6 separate regions of the Homo sapiens genome follow, and all the other regions are linked to region 1. Evidence: promoter capture Hi-C in 16 types of primary human blood cells and fetal thymus (Javierre and others, 2016). All regions are on one chromosome and are shown on one strand. Each heading gives the region's core, a stretch centred on a gene start or on the middle of the fragment in contact. The rest is flanking DNA. Distances are from core to core; before and after follow the strand shown.

Region 1 (3,968 bases), core at 553-3,052:
ACCCAGCCCTCTGCAATGCGGATGTATTTTAATTCTTAAATTCTTTATGGAACAGCTTTCTAAGTTGGGCTTGATTATTTAACCTTGCATTTCTTTCATAGTTGAAGTTGACGTGTCTAGATAAGGATCAGCTCTCTTGAAGAGGCATTCAGCTTTTCCATTAAATATATTTTTTTACAAAACCAGTGCCCCGAAGGTCATCTCTCATTACACACACCACAATGATCAAAAAGGGAAAATATTAACACCAATTTGTCTACCCAACTTAAATAAACTTTCCTCTTACGTTGCATTATTCCTAAGGTATGTTCATTTGGCCTTTTTTGAAAAAAAAAAAGAGTTATTTAATTTAAAGCATGCAGCTAATCACAGATCACTCGAGTGCATATTTGGTTAATCCCTCGGTCCCCCTTTCCTCCCTCCCCTCAAACTTAAAAAAAAAAAAAAGCCACCACACACAAAACAAAAACACTCCCCATGCCAATCAAAACGTAGCTGTACTATGCACAAAACAAATTTAACTATTCCAAGCCATTTAAATCTAGGAATAATCACCCAATTTCAGAAGCCCAGTTAACAGGGAGAAATTATTTGTAGTTACTTACATATGCATTCACGTACACACTTAAAAACATTAGCCATAGTGTGTGTCCTTTTCCCCTACAACTGGAAACCATGAATTTTTTAAACAAAACCAGCCTCATTATTAAAGTCAATCCCAACAAATGCATTCGCTGTAACATGATTCCCAACTGGTTTATGTTGCAAACCAGATAAGCCAAAACGACCACAGACATTAAATTTGATGTGCCAGTGCAAAGAGAAGATCGCCATAATCGGACCCTCGATCGCAACTTAAAGGGCTTCCAACACACATGCGTTACACGATTTTTCCAAATAACATTAATAATAATAACACAGGCTCATTTGCATGCAAAGTGCAATACGGGGCCAAATCCGCTTGAGAATGCAGTTTAGTTACATTACCGCAGCCACCCCCCACCTCAAGCTCCACCAAAATCCCTTGCCTTTCATCTAAAAGTAGATTATGGTTGTGTCATTCGAGGTCAATTTATTCACTTGAGGTATCTCTACACCAGTCTGTTTTTTCAACCAAACTAGGCAGACACCACTTTGCTTGAAAAGCCCTCTTTCAGAAAAAAAAGAAACAGCCTTATCGGACGCTGTGTTTAAAACCCTTCAGAGGCAGAATTATCTATAAACTTGACATTCACAGCCATTGCTTAAAACTGCAAGTCAAAGGATGTGTTGTTAGGAGCACTTACGTATTTCTTCTGAATGATATTCCTCTTGGGTCTTTCCTTGCTCATTCTGAGATCCAAATGCTGATTGCAAAAGGGGACAATTGCTTCATGAATTTAAAGCCGTCAGAAATTTGCAAAAAAATATCCTGGTGGTTTTTATTGTTGTTGGTGGTGGTTGATCTTGTAATCCGACTTTTCTTCCTCTTCCCCCAAAGCCAGATTCGCCTTGAAATAAATCCGAAATTGGGAAGGAAAAAAAAAGAGCCAAAGACGAACGAAGCAAACAAAAAAAAATTCACTTTAGTAAAACACTCATAATGGAAAATTTCCCCCGAAACACATACACACACACACAAAAAAAAACCGACGCCCTTCACTCCCCCCCCTTTTTCCTCCAAAAACTACATCAGCGAAACGTGAAGGTCCTTAGTGTCTGATCCGTAGTTACATCTTGGAAAAGAAAAGGGAAAGATAAATAAAAAATGTTGGAAGTCACGTTTGTGCTGCAGCAGCAGTGCGAGCAGAAGAGTCAACTCCAGCGGCGGCGGCGGCGGCGGCGGCAGCACCACAGCGAGGGCTCGCCGAGTCTCTTTTTTCCAAGCCCCCTAACCAATGAGAGAGAGGCTATCCAGCCCAACTTTAAATGGACTCTGCTTTTATACAAGTTAGGGCTCCTCGGATAATTCCCCGCCGGGCGCCAGCCGAAAACTCCCACCGCTCAGCCGCCAGGCGCCCGCTTAGCCTGGTGCCGACCGCCCCTGGCCCAGTCCAGGGCACCCCCGCAGCCTGGCCAACCAGACACCCGAGCGACCTCGACGAACCCCTCCCAGGCAAGCCCTCGGGCGTCGCTCCCACGCCGAGCCCAGGCGTGGAATTGAGAGAGGCTCCCTAGCTCAATGCATGGCACGCTCCGTCGCTCCACCTCACCCCCTTTCCCCTGCCTGCCGCTCACCCCACGGCCGCCCCACGCCAGCCCCCGCCACTGCCTTCGCGTCTACCTGCAGCCGGGCTGCTGGGTAGGAGTGCCCCAGGACGCCCGGCCCCGGGGAGAGCCGCCTATTCCCGGGGCACCTTAGAATGGTCCCCTTGATCTTCTGGAAGTTGTAGTCCCCCGACTACAAAATGGCTATGGCCACGGAAGCTGGGAACTACAATTCCCAGCCTGCCCCGCAAAGCCTGTCACTCAACTCCCCTCCCTCCTCCTCGCCCCCTCCCCCTCACTGGCCGTGCCAACAAACGCTTGGACGTGTCCCGCGTGCGACACTGCTAGAGGCTGGCTCGGGATTGGCCCGCGGAGCGTGTGGTCCGCGAGCGAGGAACTCCCCACGCCGGCCCTCCTCCGCCCCCCGGGCCCCGGCCCCCCTCCCCTGGCGGCCGCCAGCCCCCTCCCCGCGCGCCCCGCCCCCACCCGCGGCGCGAACCGCCTGTGGAATCGAGGAATCGCGCGCGTGCGGCCCGGAGCCGCGGGGGAGGGACGCGAGGCTTCCCCGGGGAAGGCCTCGGAGCGTGGCGGTGAGGGGGGCGGTGTCAGGGAGGGGTTGGAGCCCGTCCTAAGGAAAACTGGGCCACGCACCAAGAGGAATCCTCGGTGCGAACTAGTTGATCGGCGGCGCCTGCTGCTTGTGCCGTGCAGCCGGTGTCACCTCAGGACAGCGCCTCGCGTCTGTGTACAGAGCGTGCTGCGGGCGCCTAGGGTAGTCCGAGGTCACCCCTCTCCGCGCCCCGCAGTCGCGCACGCCCCCACGCGCGGGGTGGGCGGTGGCCGGGGGTCGCCGAGTGGAAAGGCCACGCCCCCCCACGCCCGGGCTCGGCACGCTGCCCCTGGGTCGCGAACGCGCCTCCGCTCGACCCGCTTGGAGGACGTCGCTGGTGGCCCAGGAGTGAAGCCCCGGCGGCTGCCTCCTGAGAAAAGATAGCCGTGTTTAAAGAGACTGAACGGGATCTTTGCTTTGCCGGGCGTATTTTGTGATAAAATACCACAAAATGTTGAGACAAAAATGAGTGGAATATGGAGACCGAGCCGCACAGACACGCAATTGTAAGGAAACATCTCGAACACCGAGTGCCAGGAATATCAACTGTCCGGGCCACGCAAGAGCCTGCTTTTTACCTGCCTCCAGCCCCCTGTCGTGCTGGTTTAATCGCTGAAACAAATGAAGTAGCAGGCCCTGGCATAGCGCTTTGGGCCTTCGCCTTATTAACAACTTTGTCAAGTCTCGCATCGCGATTCTGCCTTGTTAATTTCCTTGTTTTTCGCTGTGGTTTTGGAGAAGCAATGTTTTCCATGATCTCTCAGGCTAGCCTCGGAATAAAACGTGGCAGAAGCGCTCCCGCGAACACATACCCATATATTTTATTCTACCTATTCCCTAGAGTCTGCTAACTTCAAAAGTCTAGATACTCACACAGCTGTTTACTTGCAGCAGTATTTGAAGAGATAACCTTGGTGTCTAGAAAGGTCTCAGAAACTGGAGGTAAGAGACCTGGATTCAAATCGCGCCTTGGCCACTTCCCAAAAGGCAACCGAGAGCCTCTCTGAGCTTGTCAGTTTCCGCATCTGCAAATTAGTGGTGATCAAACCTGTGGGGATGATTATGTGATAAATAACAGTAACCTAGTTTAAAACTAGGCACGTTATTGGAAGCTTTCAGTAAACGAAATAAAAAGCCTTTTCGAGAGGGTATTTTCCTTATTATTTTTACC
Region 2 (3,968 bases), core at 375-2,874, 1.6 Mb after region 1:
ACCATAAAACACCAAAGATGCTAAATGAAGTGGGGAACAGGAAGGACAGGTTGGTGGCAGGTAAGGCAAGTATGGGACAAATCAAGTTTTCAGAGCCTGTGGATAAGTGCCTGCTACCCCACTAAATGATTCAAAACACTTTTTATTCACCACCACCCACTATGCCCTAGTACAATGACAGGCAGTCAACAAAATGTACTGAATGAACACAATGGGATCAGGAATTCAAAAGCTAGCTATGGGAATGAACAAAAATAAATGGTAAAATAAGAAGTAGAACGTTACCTCCGTCTTTCCCATCAAATTCATATACCAAGGTAGCTTTTGAATTTGGGTTCTACAATTCCTTCAGTTATATGGATTCAAATAAATGTACCAGTATATAATTCAAAGATGGGTGTATATAAGCAAGTAATATAAAAAGATCCATTACTTACTTAGTCTGTGAAGCTGTGGTTAACTTCTCCAAAATAGTGTCTGGAAGGAGTTTTCTTTTCTTTTGGAATGAAAACGTTTAAAATTAATAGAAAGTCATGTACATAGTATGTCCGGAGTTGCTTCTGAAGTTACCGCTTTTAAGAATGCCCTACATCTAGGCAAAGAAATGAATTAGGCTGGAAACTGCCCCCATACCTCTAAGCTATGGGAAGACCGGGTCCACAAAACTCCACATTCTCTGAAAGACTTGATGAAAACTAGAAAGGGTGCCCACGGTATTCTAACCCTCAGGTCACTGTTATAAATTGAAAGCAGTTAAGTAATGTCTGCCTGGAGCCAGCTCTCTGTGTCGAGTATCAGACAGCAAAGCAACCATACACTAAGTCTGTACAGCCCTTACAGTTTACAAATCACCTCATTTAATTCTCACAGCAACCTCTTATTTTCAGTTGGTGGACACTAAAGGAGACGAACTTTTTTTTTTTGAGACAGGGTCTCGCTCTGTCGCCCAGGCTGGAGCGCAGTGGTGTGATCTCGGCTCCAGGCAGCCTCGACATCCCGGGCTCCGCCCACCTCGTCCAACTAAAGTACTGCCGCGCCCGGCCCGAGCATCTTTCCACCACTGTCAGAGGCAATCTTGGTGACTGTTTCCCCACTCCAATATCCTGCCAACCCAAATTACATCCACCATAGGAATTCTCCCTGAGCCGAGTTGTTTTAATAAGACACCTCCTCCCTAGCCTCTAACCTTCTGTTCGATGAACAGCTCCTCGCGTCGCTTCCTCTTCTCCTTCAGGAGCGTTTTATCCCTGGGAGGAAGGGTGATAAGTCAGCAAAGGGAAGGACAAGCGGGACGAGAAAGGGCGGTTCTCCCCGCCGGGCAGCGGGCTCCGAACCTGCGCACGGTCTCCCGCACTCGCCGCTCCTCTTCTCTCGCTTCCGCCTGGGCGCTGGCGAAAGTCAGCTCCTCCGGGGCCTCATCGTCAAACTCATCGTCCCCTTCCTCGTCTTCCTCCAGGGGCTCGGCGGCCGCGCCGCTGCTGGGCTGCCCGAGCAACAGCCCGTGCTCCGCCTCCTCCTCCTCCGAGGCCAGCTGGCCCTCGTCCACCATCGCCTCCGCCGACGCCGGGGCGCGAGACGCTCGCGGTCGGAGCTGCACCATGGCCCACGCAGCGCTAGACCGTCTGACCTCTGACCCGGAAGCAGCTACAAGCGGAGCGCAAGCCTACTTTCATCGCCCCCTGCAGGTTCGGAGGTCCTCAGGACGGGTGGGGCGCATGCGCGAAGGGAGGAAGGGCGTGGCCTGTAGGCAGTGGGCGTGTTTCTTTCCACGTGGCCAGCGCAGGCCGCCTTGGAGCCGGATGGACCCCACGGAAAATGCTCTGCCGGCGAAAGCGGCTGGCAATGGGGTTGATTTCAAGGCAGGGAAGAGCCATCGCGCTGCCCTCCTCGGCTGGGATGGCGAGACAGGGCTGGCACGGCTCACGCTGTCCGGTGCTCAGAAAACCGGTAATCGCGGGCCCGAGGCGCTGCTCGCCGCCGTTTTTTGGCCCTGGGTTCCGTCGAGTGGATCCAGCTTGTCAGTCTTTGTGTAGATTTGGCTGCGTTCGCTCCGCACTTCGGAGGAGGTGGCGTTTCATGGGAAGAAATGCGCTCTAGCAGATGGCCGCCGTGGCCAGTCAGCCCTGCTGCCACCGACGAAGACGCGGGCGACAGACCTGGACTCTAAAGAAATCTGCACAGACGTGCCCGGCGCCCTCGGCCTTCCCAGCTCCGCGGCCGCAGCGACGCCGGTTAGGATGTCGGCCCTGTGGGAGGGGCGCCCTTCCTGGTGCCGGGCCCTAACCCACGACCTGGAACAGCAGCTGGCCCGTGGCAAATGCTGAGCATATCTCCTGAAAGAATGGCTTCGCCGGTCCCTAGAGAATGCACCCGAGTTTTGTGGTATATACACATACGTACTTTTTTTCCAAGTATATTTTATTTCTTGGCAAACATGGCCCTTTGTGATCGCTGTGTTTCTCTCCTCCCATCCATTATACAACACTAAGTGATTCATCATTCTTTGAACAAATCAAACTGTTTCACACCTGCCATGCATTTGTACCGACCGTGCTCTTCCCTCTACTGCCGCAGCCCCCCAGGTAGAAGTCCTTTTTATACTTCAAAAATTCCCACCCAGGCAAATTTCAAGCACCTTACCCCTACCCCATCCCACTCTGCCCATCTCTAATTGCGCTGGTCTGAACCCGCACAAATGTCTGTGTAGTTTCTGCACTTCATAACAGCTTATATGACAGTTGCTCCAGCCATTCTGTGAACCCCTGAGGGGAAGGGCCAGGTCTTGCTAGTCATTTTATTTCTAATGTCTATCATCTGGTAGATGTTTAATAAATGCTAAGTTGAATAATTCTATCTTACACATATATTGTATTTTTAATTCTCTTTTCATGTCTTCTGTTTTAGAAGCAATTCTCAATTTAAAAACGACAAAACCAAATAGGAACAAAAATGATAAAACTTGAAAACAACAACAACAAAAAAAGCTGCTGAACCAGAGGTTCAGTATGAGAGGAATTGCAAAGAACAGTTTTGAAATCTCTAGGCCTTAGTCAGATAGAAATTACAAATCAAAAATATAATCAGACTCCCTGAGACACTAACACTAGGAAAATGAATAAAGTTAACTTGGAGCAGCCCAAGAACAAACTTATAAGTGCATGATGGTATTTTATGTGCAAAACTGCTTTATAAGTACTATAAGACTATTACAGGTATTACCAGTGCCCTCAGTGTAAACTCCTTGGCCCACCCATGTAAAGTGTACATCGAGCCCTCAGGGTCCCTGACTGGTTCTCCAGCCGCCCCATAGGCTATGAGCATCCCCGTTCCCTACACAAAGGACCACTGGGATTTATTAAAGGTTATGCCTTGCAATGCAGTACAAAGTTTTATATGATAGTGTCTTGTTGCCTGTTTCTACAAAAGCCAAGGGTGTAACATTAAATGCAATTTTGCAAGGGGCTGAGGTGATGTGGTCCAAGTATGTAATCACTTCAGGGAGCCATATGTGACCTTCATACACTGTTGATAATGGCCATGCCTCCCAGTCAGGCCTGTGACACCTGCTGGACAGCAGGCATTCCAAGGCCCCTAAGCACTGAGTTAGCTGGTAAAGGTTAAGGAAAAAGCTGTATTCTTACTACTTTACTCCAAGGTAGTAAAGTGTATGGAAGATGTACCTGACAGAAATAACTTAAGCATCCCCTGAGAATGACCCTGTATGGCAGATGCATCTGACAGCAATAACTTAAGAAGTGAGGGTTGCCACGTGGAGGCTGCTGAGGGGAGGGTGCTGAGTGAAAGTGCTATGTAAACTGCATGCTTTTTATAAGTGGTTGCAGTTCTGTCCAGCCCGCGGCCACTGGACCACCCTGTAAGGTTCCCCAAATAAACCCTATGTTTCCTTCACTAGCTCCAGGTCTCTTCTTTGGCCTCTTGAACCTGGTGCCATCCCTACTGAAGTTAAC
Region 3 (3,968 bases), core at 539-3,038, 1.4 Mb after region 1:
ATCTATGGTCATTGAAATTTGAAAATAGTTGGCCGGGCGCGGTGGCTCACGCCTGTAATCCTAGCACGTTGGGAGGCCGAGGCGGGCAGATCACAAGGTGAGGAGTTCGAGACCAGCTTGGCCAATATGGTGAAACCCCGTCTCTACTAAAAATACAAAAATTAGCCAGGCGTGGTGGCAGACACCTGTAATCCCAGCTACTCAGGAGGCTGAGGCAGGAGAATTGCTTGAACCCGGGAGGCAGAGGACACAGTGAGCTGAGACTGCACCACTGCACTCCAGCCTGGGTGACAGAGCAAGACTCCGTCTCAAAAAAAAAAAGAGAAAATAGTTGCCTTGGGGTGGTGGTGGATTGTCTGGAAAACTGGCACAAAATAACTTTCTGGAGCAATGAAAATGTTCTAGATCTTGACTGGGTGGTATATACAACTGCTAAATGTCATCAAGTTGCTAAATGACATTTATCAACTGCTAAATGTCACCTAAGTCTGTGGAATTTACTGTATGCAAATTATACCTCAATTTTTAAAAATTACAAAGGACTAACATTAAAGTTTGTGCCACAGTTTAATCGTTCCTCTAATGTTGTGCACTATTTTCCCATTTTTTCACAATCACAAATTATGATACAATGACTATCTTTTGTGCATATGTGAAATTACCAATATTAAGCATTTTGACCCATAAAAATGACAAGTTTGTATAGTCAAACCTAGTAGATATTTAATATTTTGGATTATTCCCATTATCCCCATTTTTAGTTAGGTGACTTGAGAAAAGTTTACAAATTTTTGTTGATACTCATTGCTAAACTGCTTTTTCTACCAATTTTATAAATGTATACTCCTTTTACAAAAGTGTCTTAGGTTGGTGCAAAAGTAATTGCGGTTTTTGCCATTACTTGCAATGGCAAAAGCCGCAACTACTTTTGCACCAACCTATGACTTGAATCCTGTTTTTCAGTTCTTCAAATTTTGATAGACACTTATCTTGCACATCCATATGCACGCTCCTCTCTTCCCAGCACTTTGTACATCTCTCATGGCTCATAACACATTCTTCCATCACGTATGTGTACACATATGGCTGTATAGGAAAACAGCTTCTGGAGGATAAGAACAATTTGTTTTGCGGTTTTTTATTTTTAATAAAATCTCCTAGCTTGGTGCCTTATGCATTTCATTTATTTATTCAACTAACATCTTCCAAATTCACATAAGGGACCAGTTATCTGTGAATGGTGTAACAGGCCTTCAAAAAGTCCACGAAACTAAACATTACCAGTTTCAAATATACCCGACAGGTCTCATTTTAACATTCATGCCCCACGTTTTAAGTTCCCAGATTGCTACCTTCCCATGTTTTTGGTGCTCTAATCTGGAAACAAAAACTCTGAAAATTTAGTTTTGAATGTATTATGTGAGGGCCTTTCCCTGGGCCCTGCTAATAATTCCTTAAAATGCTCCCCAGAACCACATGTTTGGGGACTTAGGATAATCAGTGAAATCTAGGGCAGCCTGTCGGTCTGAGACTTTTCACAGGACTCTGAAGGGCACCGGGGTAATTCCTTTTTAAGGACAGCAGTGCAGTGAAAATGCAAATCGTGACAGCAACAAGCTCCTTCCAGTTCCGGAGTGCCCGCAGGCTCCTCCCGGTCGCCGCCGTCGCCTAGCGAATGGGGTGGGGGCTCGCACGGTCCCCGCATCTCGGAGCGCCACGGCGGGCTCCTGCCGCCCCGCCCCACCCCACCCCCGGCGCGCGTCCCGAGCCCCGCCCGCGCGCCCGGCAGGAAAGGGCGGTCCTGCGCTGTGGCCCACGCTCGCTCCCGCTGTCGGACTCTGGGCCTGGACCGCGCGTGGCCGGCGCCAAAAGCGAGAGGCATGAGCGCGCGCCCGGGCCAGTGAACTGCTCGGGGATGGACTGCGGCTCGGTCGGCGGCCAGAGGACCCAGCGCCTGCCCGGCCGCCAGCGGCTTCTCTTCTTGCCCGTGGGCCTCAGCGGAAGACCGGGCGGCAGCGAAACCTCAGCACGCCGCTGCCTCTCTGCGCTCTCCGACGGTCTGGGGGCGCTGCGCCCTCGCGCCCCGGCGGCCCGCGGCGGCGTGTCACGTGCCTCACCGCTGCTCCTCCTCCTGCTAGTGCCCTCCCCGCGCTTGGCCGCCGCAGCCCCGCGCCGGCAGCTCGGGGACTGGGAGCGCTCGCGCCTCGGGTATGCCGCACCCCCGGCCGGGCGCAGCAGCGCGTGGAGGTGCTCACCGGGCGTCGCCGCTGCCGCCGGCGCCCTTCCCCAGTACCACGGCCCGGCGCCTGCACTCGTTTCCTGCAGGAGAGGTGAGGCCCGGGCGGGAGAGGAGAGGGGGCTCGTCTCGCGGGGTTGGACGGCGGGGCGGGGATCTCAGCTACAGCCTCCCCGAGGAAAGGCCCGGCAGGCCGGAGGGCGGGTCCTCCAAGGCCACCGGCATCTGCCCGGAGCGTGGGTCGAAGGTCCGGGCCCGCCCTGCTCGGCCGCGGTGGCGGGGCTTAGCCCAGAAGAGACGAATTCCTGGGAATCCCGGGCGCTAAAGTTGGAGGGAGGTGCGTGCTGGGGCGGGGAGTTGGTGCCCGCCCACTCCTAGGGTCTGCTTTTGGGCGCCGCCTTCCAGGAGTTCTGTTTGGCAGCGCCCAGCCTGTTGGGCGTTCAAGGGGAAGGGGTGTGTATGTTTGAGCAGCAAAGCTCTGGGAAATGAAGGGATTGCTTTACAGTTTGATTTCAAATTCTGATGGAATCATTAATTCGTGGAGTCCTAGCGTCTGCCCTGTCCCTGGCGCTTTTCTAGATGTGTGAGATATATCAGTCCACAAAATCTTCCCTCTGGAGCTTAATTCTAGCAGAGCAGACGCAGTAAATATGTGTGTGTGGATATACGTATGCATAATTGATGTATATATAATTTATATATACAAATAATTTTTATATATTCGTAATTCGATGCCTGGTATAGAAAAATAGGATAAGGCTTGGGAAGTGGAATGGGTCTCCAGTTGTGAATTTAAATAGGGTGATCAGAATCGATTTCATTGAGAAGGTAGCATTTAATTAGAGTCATGCATCTCTTCAGGACAGTCGCCTACTGAGAAATGAGTCATTAGGCGACTTCTTCCTTGTGTGAATATTGTAGAGTGTGCTTACACAAACCTGGATGCTACAGCCTACTACACACCTAGACTATCAGGTAGAGGCTAGTGCTCCTAGGCTACAAACCTGAACAGCATGTTACCGTACTGAATACTAGAGGCAATCTGAACACAATGGTATTTGCGCATCTAAATGTAGAAAAGGTAGAGTAAAAATATGTATTATAGTCTCATAGACCACTGTCGTGTGTGCCCCTCTGTCCTGGGCTGAAAGGTAGTTGTGGGGCTCATGACTATTTAAAGGAGGTGAGAGAGATCACTGCCCTGGAGATGAGGAAAGTAAATAGAATCAATTTATTAGATAGCATATTGTTGATTAAAGAAAAAAATCATTTCTGATAATCAACAGACTTGGCAAAATTATCACTTTGGGCAGTCTATACATATTCATTAGTAGCCATCACTAACTACACATTTTTCATATTTTCTTCAACAGATAGGCCCACTAAATGTTGACCATATCTATAATTTAAGAATATCATTGGCTGGGGTAAAAACTGATTAGTAGAGCAATAAAGTGAAGGAAACTTTATATACAGAGAGTGGGGAATGAGTAGTGAACTCGGTGTCACTGTCCTTCAGTAATTAGGAGTCGGAGATGAGTTTGGTCTTTATTCTGTATTTTGCCTTTTGTTGCGCTTTTTCTGACAAGCTAGTAATTTCCAATTTGTTTTTCTCTCAATGCAAGAGTATAGGGCAAAAAGAGAGTGTTCTTTCTCACGGATTTGCTGACCAATCGGTAAGGTGGTACTGTTGTTTTAGTGTCAGCTATCTCATTCTTCAGTCATCATAAAA
Region 4 (3,968 bases), core at 869-3,368, 1.1 Mb after region 1:
ATAGACCTGAATATTTAAATAGAGAAAGAGAAATAAGCCCTGCGCTGAGAAGGAAAGCTTGAGTATTGCCGCCTCTTGGCTAAAAATAAATCTATTTCTATAGATCCTGTTTTTATACAACTATAATCCTTTTTTATATATACAACTGACTTTGGAAGAAAAAATTATATATAGAAAAAAACTATTTTAAGACTAATGAGACGTTTGAGAAATTGGGCTCCGCAGGCAAAAGGCAGCCCACAGAAAGAATTATGCAGGACCTCAACTGTTGTTAGGGTCATAATTAATAATTACAGTTAGTTCTTAAGCAGTAATTGCTACAGTGCCACTTCCAGCAACATTCTGGCCAAAGCACCCCACCCAGCACAGTGGCTCCCGGCCTGCTAGCTGTTGGACAGCACAGCTCCTCTGTGGTGGGAATGGAGACAATTTACCCTGGGAACCCAGACTAGGGGAGATGTTAAATCATTTGCAGACCATTAAATGATCTGCACCCTGGGGGAGCAGGGAGTCCTGGAGCAACTTTCTCATGCATTCCACACCCCAGCCTCCCAGGCATTCCACACTGTCCTCAGTCCACCCTGGGACTCTTCAGCCTCTCCTGTACCCTGCAACCTGTCCTTATAAGACAGGGACCTACCACCTCGGCAGCTGCTCTTTCAACCATCTCCCTCCACTCATTCTAGGCACCTACTAGGAATTTTCCTGGGTTTCTTGATTCTACGCCCTGTCTTTAGCTATCCCATTTAGTGTATTTCAAGGCGTGCTTTGCGGAGTGCCCACGTCGTGATCAAACCATGGCCCAGACCCACTGCATTGGAGCCTCAAGAGGTCCTAGGGAAAGGCGCTTTATAGTTACCTTCCTGCCTTCCCCTGACTCTAATGCACACTGAAGATTGAGATGCACTCTACTCATCAAATGACTCATTTACCTTTCTATCACAGACTGCTCCCCTCTTGCTTTTTCTTCTCAGGCATCACTTTTTCGATAGCTCATTACCATTCCCAAAAAGAACTCTAATAGTCTTTGGTCCTCCCCTAAAAGCCTTCCGTTCTCCTCAGTGTCACTCCCTAAACTCTTTCCCATGGGCAGACTCAAGGGCATTTTAAATTCTACGCTTTCCTTCTCTCCAACTTTAAAAGCAAATGCTTGTATCATTTAAATAATCATTCTTCCATCTCACTGAAATCTCTTCTAGACTCTTGGGCACACTGACAATCAGAGTACAAACCCAGGTTTTCTCCCCTGCTTTCAGGAGGCAGGGACCCTGGGATCAGTCCAGGTGGCTTCCTATCAGGAAGATGGTGCCTGCTACCTCCTCCCAGGCACACCACCACCATACAAGGCTTCAGAGCAGTGGGCCCCAGTCTGTCTCTTCCAGCCATTCCAGGGTGTATCCCCAAAAGGAGGATTGGTGGATTTGTGTTATGAACAGCATATGAGAATGCCAAACATGTGAATGTGCCAATCTGGTATTAACCCCCCACCAGTGTTCCTTTCTGCAGTTACACATGGATTACTGGCAGCCTGAGATCTGTTCCTGGGAGCAAGAGTCATGCTCTTCTGGACTCCTGGAGATAGCCAGTGTGGGATGGACAGATGCTTTCTCTCTGTCGAGTTCCCAGGCAGGGTGCTATCTACAGGTCATGGAGTGGGAGGGTGATCTTGGCTGGTTGGCTCTTCTCAAACCCCTCCAAAGCCCCTTGGGTAAAAGGAGTATTAAAAGTTCAAAGGACAATCGTGAACTTATTAAAAAAACTTTCAGACTGCTCATGAGTTATGAATATTAAAATTAGGATTGTTCCCATTTTCCTCTTTGTTCCCAGGGCAATGGCTCCCCCAGCTGTAAAATAGAGGCAGAGGAAGAGCAGCCTGCATTTAGGCATATAAGGGAGCTCTTGGTGCATTCCAGCTTGTTTCTGGAATTGCGGTATCTACCACCCCAGAGAGATATTTTTTTTTCCATTGTGGAATAAAATCCTTATTATTTTTCATACCAATCCCATGAGATAAGAAAAAGAAGAAGAAAAAGGAAGAAGAAGAGAAGGAAGAGGAGAAGGGATGAAAAGGTTTAGGGTCTGCAATTTGACCCCACATTCTATTTGGGACGAGATGAATTATGGAGGAGATATTTTAAGGTGCTGTTTCTGACCCAAATAGCCAATGGATATCCTTCTTTCTTGCTTCCACTGCTTAAGCAAAAACCAGCTGTGCTCAGCATCTGGAAGAGTGGTTCTGACCTTGTTTTATCCTAGTTGATTCCCACTGGCTTTTATGTTTTCCATAAATGATTGAAGAAAAGTTCTCAGTTGGAAATAGCAATAAAAACTTCCATAAATTCTTGGTGAGCACCAGTTTCAGGCAGCTCATTGGATTCTCACTCTGCACAGTCCCAAATTCTGTGAGACGGACTGTCCAAGATGCAAGGAAGGCCTGGATCCGGTCAAGGAGGAAGCCCAATAGCCCACGTCCACTCCTAGGTCTCACTTCTGGCAGCCACAGAATTCCTAGGGCCTCTTCTCAGCCACAGGTCCCATGTGCCATTCCCTCTAGGTTATTTTTCATCTCTAAAACTGTATTTTCCATCTATTAAGTGAGGATAGCAATAGTATCAACCTCTAGCCACTTAGGACAGCACCTAGCACATTATACAAATGCATTTTGATGATTATCAATCATTTATTTAATTTGTAATCAGGAAAATAAGAAATACTTATTGAGTGACTATGATAGGCATTTTACCTTCTTTGTATTGTTTAATCCTCCAAACAGCCCTACTAGGTAGAAACGATAATTCCATTTTACAGAAGAAAAAAATTGAAAAACATTTTGTGAAATTAAGTAATGGACCCAGGGCCTCTCAGCTTATAAATGGCAATGGAGGGGCTGTGCTAAACCATACCTGTGCTCTTTCCAACACTCAATAGTACCCAGTATTGAGAGCCTACTGTATGTTCTAGGTGCTGGGGGTACAGAAGAGATGACATGGAGAAGCGCCTAAATCTCACGGATAAAAGTACCACTTTGCTATAATTCCTAAATCCTTTAATGATTGGTGGTGAGGTTGTAATGAAAGAGCCGCCATCAGCCGCCTGTCAACTCCCGGGAAGGTGGTTTCCCATCCTCACGCCTCCCTACCCTCTGCTTATGTGAAGTTGCCTGCCTCAGTCTCTGTCACAGCTTTAATACTCTCCCTGCCCTGGGTATTGTAATACTCTCAGCTTCATTTCTATCTGTTGGCAAAACAAGAGCTCTGTTCAGACGAATTGCCTATCAAATTGGCTCAGAAAATTCATGTTTTACTTGGATGTGAACCTTCTCAGAAAGCCTGGCTGGAGGATTACTGCTCCCAAGGGCCCCATGTCTGAAAATTGGAGAGAAAGAAAGACAACACTCAACACGCATTAACAAAAACTGTGAGAAAACCAACCCAAAGTTTACTCGACCCTATCCAGCCTCCAGCTCACGCTGCACATGGCTTGAGCCACCCTTCCTTCAGAGAGGGAGCAAGATTTCAGATCTTCCAACATGTGCCTTCCTATCACATCTCCAGGGGCCCATTTGGCAATTTCAACTTCAACTAATAACGACATAAGGGGATTTTGCAAATTTATAATCTCCAAAATGTACATCAGCCAATATTCTATTTAATTTTTAAACTCCATTTCTTTCATTAAGGAGCTATTTTGGTTCTCAAGGGGGTCACTAGTTTTGTCTCCATTTTGACTAATTTAACACATATTATCAACTACTAGCTAAGGTTGTCTGAGCTGATGGGAAACTTTTAGTTCTGGCTTTACCCAGCCTTTCACCAGAATGAATCTTGTCAACTCCAATCGCATTTAATGGACTTTAAATGTGTTTCCTATGACATTTTCCAAAACCAAAATAAGCGAAAAGTGTTTTGCATTTCCCATAGGGTAGTGCTAACCTCACTACAAAATTTAGGGCCAAATTTTATCCACTT
Region 5 (3,968 bases), core at 874-3,373, 1.0 Mb after region 1:
GCAGTGGGCGGCGGCGCGGGTAGGAAGCAGGCGGGGAGCGACGCGGAGAGCCCGATTTGTCCCTCCTCCAGCCACTTGTTGCTTATCCATGGGCCTGGGACTGCCATTTGGATCCACACAGGGGAATTAAAACAAAAAGAATAATGAGGCTCCTGGCCGTGGCGGGGTGCGCATTGGCCCTCTTGCCCTGCGTGTAGCAGGTGGAGGAGACAGGCTCCATCCTTAGAGCTTCCCAGAGCCCAGGGTTGGCCTGAAGACACCAAAGCAGAGGACAGCCAGGAATTGGGTCAGAAAGAAAAAGCTTCGTTGGTTTTAATTATTTTAAATAGAAAAGCCACATCCAAAAGTACCAATAATGATTTTTACAGTAAACCCACTATGTTGACATAAACCAGCCCACCCCTGAACGCACAGAAGACCGTAGCACAAACCGTGAGAGGCGTATTGAAGGACTGGGGCAAAATCAGGACCGACAGGCAAGCGTGGTTTCCATCAGGGTCTTACTCCTCTGGCTTCCTAGTTTAGGCAGATTTCACCCTGTTAATAGGGTCCGTGGATCGGTCTCTCTTTCTCTCCTCTCTCTCTAGCTCTCTATCTCTCTCCCTTTCCACCTCGTGTTTCATTCCTTTGAAACAAATCCAGGGAGCAGATGGCCTCAGAAGGGTATCTAATCCATGCCTGGCCTCGAGGCACGTACTATAAGCTGTGATACCGTGCTAAGGTGTTATTATAGAGACAAAAATATCTCAGACTGCAGGATCTAGCCATCCTATTCTTAAAGTTCCCTAGGGAAAGATGTTGTACAATATTCTTTGATAACCTACTACAAATGCTAACCACTTTAAGTACAATATAAGAACCTTCTGATCCTAGGTTTTATTTGTTTCTATTTAAACTCATTCAGGGTCAGGCTACCCAGAGGGCAGTTGAACACCTGTCCGGTGGCTTATGGGAATGCCTTGCACGATGTGCACTTCCCTCCACCAGGATCAGTGTGTCTGCTGACACTGGGGACCATGCCTGAGACATAGGTACAATTGGGCTGTGCCAGGGCAGCTCAGAGAAAGTGATCCACTCTGATTCAGACCCTGCCAGCTGAGTTACTTACTTCCCTTACTTCCTTTTTTTTGAGATGGAGTTTCGCTCTTTTTGCTCAGGTTGGAGTGCAATGGTGCAATCTTGGCCTACTGCAACCTCCGCCTCCCAGGTTCAAGTGCTTCTCCTGCCTCAGCCTCCCGAGTAGCTGGGATTACAGGTGCCCACCAGCATGCCTGGCTAATTTTGTATTTTCAGTAGAGACGAAGTTTCACCATGTTGGCCAAGCTGGTCTTGAACTCGGATCTCCAGTAATCTACCCGCCTCCGTCTCCCAAAGTGCTGGGATTACAGGCATGAGCCACCGCACCCGGCCACTTGCTTCTTTTAGAGAGCAGGCTTTGTGCACCTACCAGTGTTGAAATACACTACCTTAATGGTTATGCTTCTCCAAATTTGATATAGTATTTGATTTTTAAATGTACCATACTCTTGAGTTCCTGACCAGTACACTGTTTGAAGGATGTCACAAGGACGTGCATTTGAAAGTCTGAATCCACAAATATGTATTGTGCTCTAATTGCCAGGCCTGGGCTTAGATACTGGGGATACAGCATTGCAGCAGGGAATTTGCAGAATGAAATGGAACCGTGAAGAAAGGAAATGAAAATAAATCACCCTGTTTCCATAGTCACCTCCCCCACACTAGTGGACTATTCTCTCTTAATCGGCTCCCTCAAACTCCTGCCTCTAGGACCTTCATTCTCTCTGACTTCTTTGATCATGGAGCAGTAAGATCACCATATGTTGGATATTGTTAAATAACATGATATGTTGGGAAAAGTCATGCACTAGGAATGAAAAAAAAACATACAGCTAGCTTCAGCCCTGGCTCTGCCACTTGACAAAATCCATAACTTTCTACAAAACTTTAAGATCTGAATCTTGGAATCTTAGTTTCCTAATCCCTAGAATGGAATAAAGAGTCTTACTTGGCAACTCCACAGGTTCAAGATTCCAGGCCTCAGTTTTCTCATCTGTAAATTGAGGGGTTTGACCTAGATTTACAGCTTGCAAATTTTCCTTAGAAGTGATTCCCCATTTATAACAAAATCCAACATAAAACCCCAACATATAAAACAGATAAAGACAGACTTGCTTTAATGGCCCTGAGGCAGAAAGCTCTGAGTCCTATATACTCTCTTCTCCTACCTTTTAAAGGCCTTGAGGCATCTGTGCAGAACCCTGGGGTTTCACTGAACACAGTTGGAAACTCACTGTGCTAGGTGATTGTTTTAAAGTACCTTCCATTTCTAAAATTCTATAAATCAAAATTTCCTAACATTGTATATTTCTATGATGAGATTTAACCCGTTTTCTTTCTTCATTTATTTAATTATGTTATAGGAGATAGTCGCAAGCTAAAACCAAAATATCTTTCATCACTCCCTCCCTATTTGTAAAGCCAATCTCTCTGCCACAGGGAGGAAAAAAGATGTTGATGGAACACGTATGGTGTAATGAGAAAAACACAATGGGGATGAGAAGATATTAGTTCCAACCTTGGTCCTGCTTTTAACTAGTTCCATAACTAGTTAGCTTGATCAAGGAATCTTATTAACCTACCTAAATCCAGAAAATTAAGAGGTTGGGTGACTTAGTAATCACAGTCATGCACATGAGCATTGCGGGAGCCTGTGCCCTCATGGCCTTCCTTAAATAATTCAATTCCAACTCAGCCTACAGGCTGACTTGCTTTATCAACCTTTCTTCAATATATATATCCTCACCCCAGAGGGAATGAAGGGTGAGAAGACAAATTAGGTTGTAAGTGACACCACCAGGACATCAAAATAGAAATATCAACTCAATCATTGTTATGTTTGCACAGATGGTTCAAGCCCACAGCACGCCTTGACCCCAGCTCACCACGCAGGAGGCACATCTCCATTAAGACAGGGTTCATGCAATATACACGTTCATAAGGGCAAACTACAAAATCTTAAAAACCCCAGAGTTTGGAGAATGTTTAAAGGAAACAGTCTGGGTTAAGGACCCAGGACCTGGGGTTCAACCAAAAGGAATGACCCCACAAAGGACAAACAGTATGATTCATTGCCTCTGAGTGTGCACATCCTGGGAAAAGGCAACTTTAGGGGTGGACACAAGAACAACAGCTCTGGTCATGGCTGTGACTTGGTTATAAGTTAACTTTATGGGTCACTGAGTGTCTGGAAACAAACTATAAAAAGAAGAAAGGGTGGCCCAGGCAGCTTTCTGTTGGAAATGGCTGTGACCAGTTGCTTCTGGAAGGGAGATGTATTGACTGCAATAAAACTTGATAGGCTCAGCACTTGTCTGTTAAGGCTAGAATCGGAAGTCAACTTTGGACCTGAGTAATTGGTATAAATTTGTGTATAAGGGCAAGACAGAAGGGATTTTATTCCAAGTGGTCAACAATATGGTGTCCAGCTGCTGCATATGATCTGCCTTCTCTCTGACCTCTAATCCCACGAGACTATCTGCATCATCTGGGGTAATCCTAATATCCAAGCAAGTGGATACACTTTCACTGTCACCACACTGGCTTTTGTTTTTTCCTTTAATCTTTGCTGTTCTTAGGAATAGCAGAACATTTAAGGTAAAAATAAATAAATACATCATAGAGACTTGCTATTCTTAACTATGTCTGTTCTTGGGAAAACAAATTGTACACAATGTTAACTTCTAGTCAATCATCCTCTTTAACTTTAGTGTCATTCGGTTAGCCGACAATTATTAAGCACACACTTGCACATATCCAGTGTCATAGAGTCCAAAGTTGTAGGCAATAAATATAAAACAAGATTATGCCAGAAATGCTTCAAAAAATACACATCATGTTTTATACTTAATTATTTTTCAAGCTTGGTGGCGGGAAGTTCGGGGTGGGGG
Region 6 (3,968 bases), core at 542-3,041, 1.0 Mb after region 1:
ATCTACTGCCACGGTGACAACCTTGCTCTCCAAATTGGCACGTTCAACCAGTCAAGAAGGACACATTTATGAGGTGTGAGTCTGAAAATGAAAATGAGATCAGTTTGGATTTATAACCTATCAAAATGATCTTGTTATTCTATAGTCATCAGTTGGGGACCCAACAGAGAATCATTCCTGATAGCCTGGTTGAGAGGCTTGTCTTTCTTTCTGAAGTGGTCATAGGTCAGTGTTTCCACCAGGAACTAGAGGCTCCTGTGTGTAGGTTCTTTGCACAGACTATACCAACTTTTAGCCTCTACTTAAGCAGCAGGGCAGGGCTGCAGGACGACTGGTCAACCCTTCAGAAGAAGTGAAGCAGTGCTGGCTGGAGAGGAGGTGCTCTGTCTTGCAAAGGGTGTCCAGCCTCTGCTTGAGCCCACGTGTGCCCCTCACATCTGCTGGATGCTGCCATGGGACAGGCAGGAATGGATGAAGAGAATTAAAATTGATAAAGATTATCTTTACCTTCAGTCATTCCTAGTCATCTCCAAGATCTAATCTATTGAATGGCTATTTCCATTGTTACCTTCTTACCATTGGCTATTTCGCTGCATGAGGAAGAATTTGGACTTTATGGAAATTTTTTGTCAAGTCATGATCCCCAAAGCTGAGAGTCCAGGACCAGAACTGTGCTTATGCTATACCTAACCCTTCTCAAAAGGAGGCCAGGACCCTGAATGTCTTTAAGATTGAACTGAAACAAAACTGCAAAGAGAATTTGTGTGTGTCTGTTTGTGGTTTGGACGGTCAGAGGCTGCATTTCCTTCCACCTGTGCTTATAAAGGGCATCCTGTTTCTTTCTTAAGGAGTATTTCATTTGTTGGTGAGAGGCGTTTGTTGATATTAAGGGTAGCCTATAAAATTAAGTGAATGGCTGGTTCCTCAGTTTCTAGCACATTGGTTCTTTATATACAGTGCAGTTATTCAGGGAGTTTATTTGGTTATTTGTTTTCTTCTTTATCTCAAGGGGCGTTTGAATGGGGTTGGCTCTCAGTTATTCAGGTTATCGAGTTTGCTCATTGGCAGCTGAGTTGAGACTGGAGTGGAAAGGAGATGGAAGCAGCCAGGTACAGTCGGTGCTGTTACAAAGCAGAGGACTTATCCAGCCCAGTGGTCAGGACATGAAGAGGACAGATAAAAGACCAGGAGGTGGTGTCACCACCTGTTGATTGATTTCATATGAAACCCCAAGAACAGGAAAAGGATAACCTCATGGTTGCACAGTCTAGAGTAGCCTTCACATGACTATAATGGAATATGCAATCCACATATGTAATTATGCAATCCACATATGTAATTATGAGCTTTCTGGTACCCCTATTTAAAAGGTAAAAGAAAGAAATAAAATTATATCAATAATATATTTTATTTAACACAATATATCCAAAATATCATCATTTAATGTTATATTTTACATTCTTTTTTTCATATTAAGTCTTCCAAATCTGGGGTTTATTTTTTGCTTATAGCATACCTCCATGCAGACTAGCCACATTCCAAGTGCCCAAAAACCACACGTGGCTGGTAGCCCCCACAATGGACAGCACGGACCAAGCAGATAAGGAGAATGTAATGAGAGATAAGTGGGAAAGGATCGTTTGTTTGGAGAGGATGTTGATAAGCTTTATCCATGTTATGTTTGGCATTTTGGTGGGATATCCGAGATGAGATGACCTGAAGGACATTAGAGATATAGGGCTGATGGTATAGGAGGGAGAAATGAAGAAGACTGATTGGCCAAGGCAAGTTTGAGTTAACAGAAAGCCTTGGTTACTATATTCTGAAAAACTTGTGGTGTGAACTTCTGTATTGACAGAGGCTCTAATATGAAGAAAGGGATGGTCTCCATAGCAAGCAGGCATCCCCTGAAGCTTTCGAAACTTCAAGTATTTGGGAATGCTATTGCCTATACCTTCTTTGTCAACCTCCAAGTCATTCCTCAGTATACATTAAGGACTCGGCTACGAGTTCTCTGTGTATGAACCATCCGACACTAGCTTTTAAGTTCCTGAGCTCTTATGGCCATTAACAGTCCTCTACATTCTTCTGTACCCATCATTTCCATGTATTCTTGGACATCATGGACATCATGGTACTTTTCTGCCTTGCAAACATTGATTCCTTTATTTGCCTGTGATATGTGTGCGCACAGACACACACACACACACACACACACACACACACACACAGAAACACAACAGTTTCCCAATACTTTTTTCCAAGGTAGAAATGCTTTTGTCTTCTATTATAAAAGTAGGACATACTGTTAAAATATCAAATAGTACAGAAGTATATATACTAGCAAATAAATGTACTCTTATTCTCAGCCATTTTTTTCTGTTTTTCTTATAAAATAAAGATATATCATACCAGACCATACCATTTTTGGCATCTGTTTTTTCTCTTAAATGTATATTTTAGAGATATGCCTCCACTTCTTCCTTTTTAATGAATATATAGCACTCTCTTTTATGGATGTTAAGCAATATATTTGTCTACTCTCTTAACCACAGAGATTTATGATCCTTCAGAGTTCTTTTGTGTCAGACCTTTTACATATTAACTCTGCACAATTGTCAGATTTTTTTCTTACAAATGTATTTCTAAAGTAAAATTGTATCATTAAGTACTAACATTTGAAAGCTCTCAATGAACGTTGTTAAAATGCTACATGAGGTTTATGTTCCTTTCAACTACTTCTTGAGAATTCCATTTCCTAATTCCACACTAATACTAGCCATTTTTATTCATTTTAATCTTGTCAGTCTGATAGGTAAAAAAAAAATCTCATTACATTTTACATTTCCACTTCTTTGATTACTAACGAAATAGAGCAACTTTTAATTATGGACTGAATATTTGCATTTCTTCTGTGAATTGCCTATTCATATTCTTTGCCCATTTCTATATTGGTGTATTTGTCTTTACCTTACTAACTCGATACTAATATTTTGTCCATAATATATGCTGCAGATATTCTTCCTAGTTGTTTGCTTTTGACTTTGTTTGTGGTATCTTTGCTTAATATTTCAATTTCAGGTAAAAAAAAAATCAGGTTAAAATAATTATATGAAGAAGCTGCAGTTGGAAATTAGAGCCGGGTATGGCAACAGGAAGAACTAGTTCAATACTTTCCCTCAGTAACAAAATTGGCCTAAACGCAACATATAGGAGCAATGAAAATCTTTTAATCTACGTATCTCATGTAAGTGTCCCTTTGCTGAAAACAAAAGATAAGTTTGTATTTTATTTTAAGAAACAATTGAGTCTCTAACCTGGAATAAGATCGAAAAAAATAAAGATAGCTATCTCTCTTTTCTCTTGCTGACTTAATTCTGAAATTTCTTGAAAATGCTAGCTGGGATATAGAAAAGAAAATGCTCTTGGAAAAGTAACTTTGCTAATTTAAAAGTCATGATAATAATCATTTTGGAAATACTTTTCAGTTGAGACAAGTTTCTCCAACATTATCACTTTTGTTGCAGGTGGGGATTCCCGGCTAGGTTAAGCACAGCATTTATTCCAAAACATTTTTAGGCCTTCCTTTATGCTAAGCGCTTCTGGAAAAAGAATAATTTATTGCCAATTGGCAGTAGGCCAAGAGCATGAAGAAGTTCGGTATTACTCTAAATGTGCCCCCAGTTTATAGTCATGGAGGGGTGAGGCCTGTATGTAATAAATATAGAAAAATGAATTAGCACAGTCCTGCTTTGAGGGCTTACAGTTTAACAGGGGGTGAGGTTATGTAAATACATCGTACAGTGGTGGGTGCAATGTCGTGGGGAATTGGTTCTACCAGGAAGGATCCAAGCAGTTTCAGGAGCAGCAGCTCTCAAGCACAGTCTAAAGACAAAGTATGCAATCAAACTATCCAGAATCCAGGAAAGCAGATTTCAAATAGTACAGAGGAAAGATAGACGTGATTC

What was found. Contacts are between HindIII fragments. The CHiCAGO score rates a contact against its expected background, and 5 or more counts as called.
Region 2: the fragment with the promoter of NOL7 here is called in contact with the fragment with the promoter of JARID2 in region 1 in 1 of 17 cell types (naive CD8 T cells); the score reaches 7.6 in naive CD8 T cells.
Region 3: a contact is called between the fragment with the promoter of MCUR1 here and the fragment with the promoter of JARID2 in region 1, in 2 of 17 cell types (non-activated CD4 T cells and naive CD8 T cells). The highest score is 6.1, in non-activated CD4 T cells.
Region 4: a contact is called between a fragment that was not itself captured here and the fragment with the promoter of JARID2 in region 1, in 1 of 17 cell types (fetal thymus). The highest score is 6.0, in fetal thymus.
Region 5: a fragment that was not itself captured here is called in contact with the fragment with the promoter of JARID2 in region 1 in 16 of 17 cell types (fetal thymus, naive CD4 T cells, naive CD8 T cells and 13 more); the score reaches 31.8 in fetal thymus.
Region 6: a contact is called between a fragment that was not itself captured here and the fragment with the promoter of JARID2 in region 1, in 1 of 17 cell types (naive B cells). The highest score is 5.7, in naive B cells.

The regions. Positions count from the first base shown.
Region 1 is chr6:15,243,903-15,247,870 of GRCh38, reverse strand. It overlaps JARID2 (jumonji and AT-rich interaction domain containing 2), which reads right to left and starts at 1,802. Exons shown (of 18, transcript NM_004973.4): 1 at 1,287-1,802. The coding sequence starts at 1,331. JARID2-DT (JARID2 divergent transcript) reads left to right here and starts at 2,497. Exons shown (of 1, transcript NR_187237.1): 1 at 2,497-3,948. It overlaps JARID2-AS1 (JARID2 antisense RNA 1), which reads left to right. Exons shown (of 2, transcript NR_120502.1): 2 at 1-56. RefSeq lists enhancers at 1,725-1,824, 1,935-1,984, 3,174-3,687 and silencers at 2,595-2,854, 2,865-3,174. The HindIII fragment of the contact is 5,356 bases long and covers 1-3,911 here.
Region 2 is chr6:13,612,991-13,616,958 of GRCh38, reverse strand. It overlaps NOL7 (nucleolar protein 7), which reads right to left and starts at 1,624. Exons shown (of 8, transcript NM_016167.5): 1 at 1,335-1,624; 2 at 1,187-1,247; 3 at 438-496. The coding sequence starts at 1,600. It overlaps SIRT5 (sirtuin 5), which reads right to left. Exons shown (of 10, transcript NM_012241.5): 10 at 1,801-3,968. LOC124901263 (a long non-coding RNA gene) reads left to right here and starts at 1,757. Exons shown (of 2, transcript XR_007059461.1): 1 at 1,757-3,968. RefSeq lists an enhancer at 2,242-2,411. The HindIII fragment of the contact is 25,604 bases long and covers 1-3,968 here.
Region 3 is chr6:13,812,377-13,816,344 of GRCh38, reverse strand. It overlaps MCUR1 (mitochondrial calcium uniporter regulator 1), which reads left to right and starts at 1,788. Exons shown (of 9, transcript NM_001031713.4): 1 at 1,788-2,330. The coding sequence starts at 1,916. LOC107986571 (a long non-coding RNA gene) reads right to left here and starts at 2,535. Exons shown (of 2, transcript XR_001743986.3): 1 at 2,256-2,535. RefSeq lists an enhancer at 1,321-1,420 and silencers at 1,581-1,850, 1,931-2,600. The HindIII fragment of the contact is 5,544 bases long and covers 1-3,968 here.
Region 4 is chr6:14,190,258-14,194,225 of GRCh38, reverse strand. No RefSeq gene overlaps it. Among named protein-coding and RNA genes, the nearest start is that of CD83, 74 kb to the right of the region's middle. The HindIII fragment of the contact is 4,117 bases long and covers 60-3,968 here.
Region 5 is chr6:14,206,937-14,210,904 of GRCh38, reverse strand. No RefSeq gene overlaps it. Among named protein-coding and RNA genes, the nearest start is that of LINC01108, 77 kb to the left of the region's middle. RefSeq lists a silencer at 1,021-1,070. The HindIII fragment of the contact is 3,639 bases long and covers 304-3,942 here.
Region 6 is chr6:14,238,255-14,242,222 of GRCh38, reverse strand. No RefSeq gene overlaps it. Among named protein-coding and RNA genes, the nearest start is that of LINC01108, 45 kb to the left of the region's middle. RefSeq lists an enhancer at 667-736. The HindIII fragment of the contact is 249 bases long and covers 1,667-1,915 here.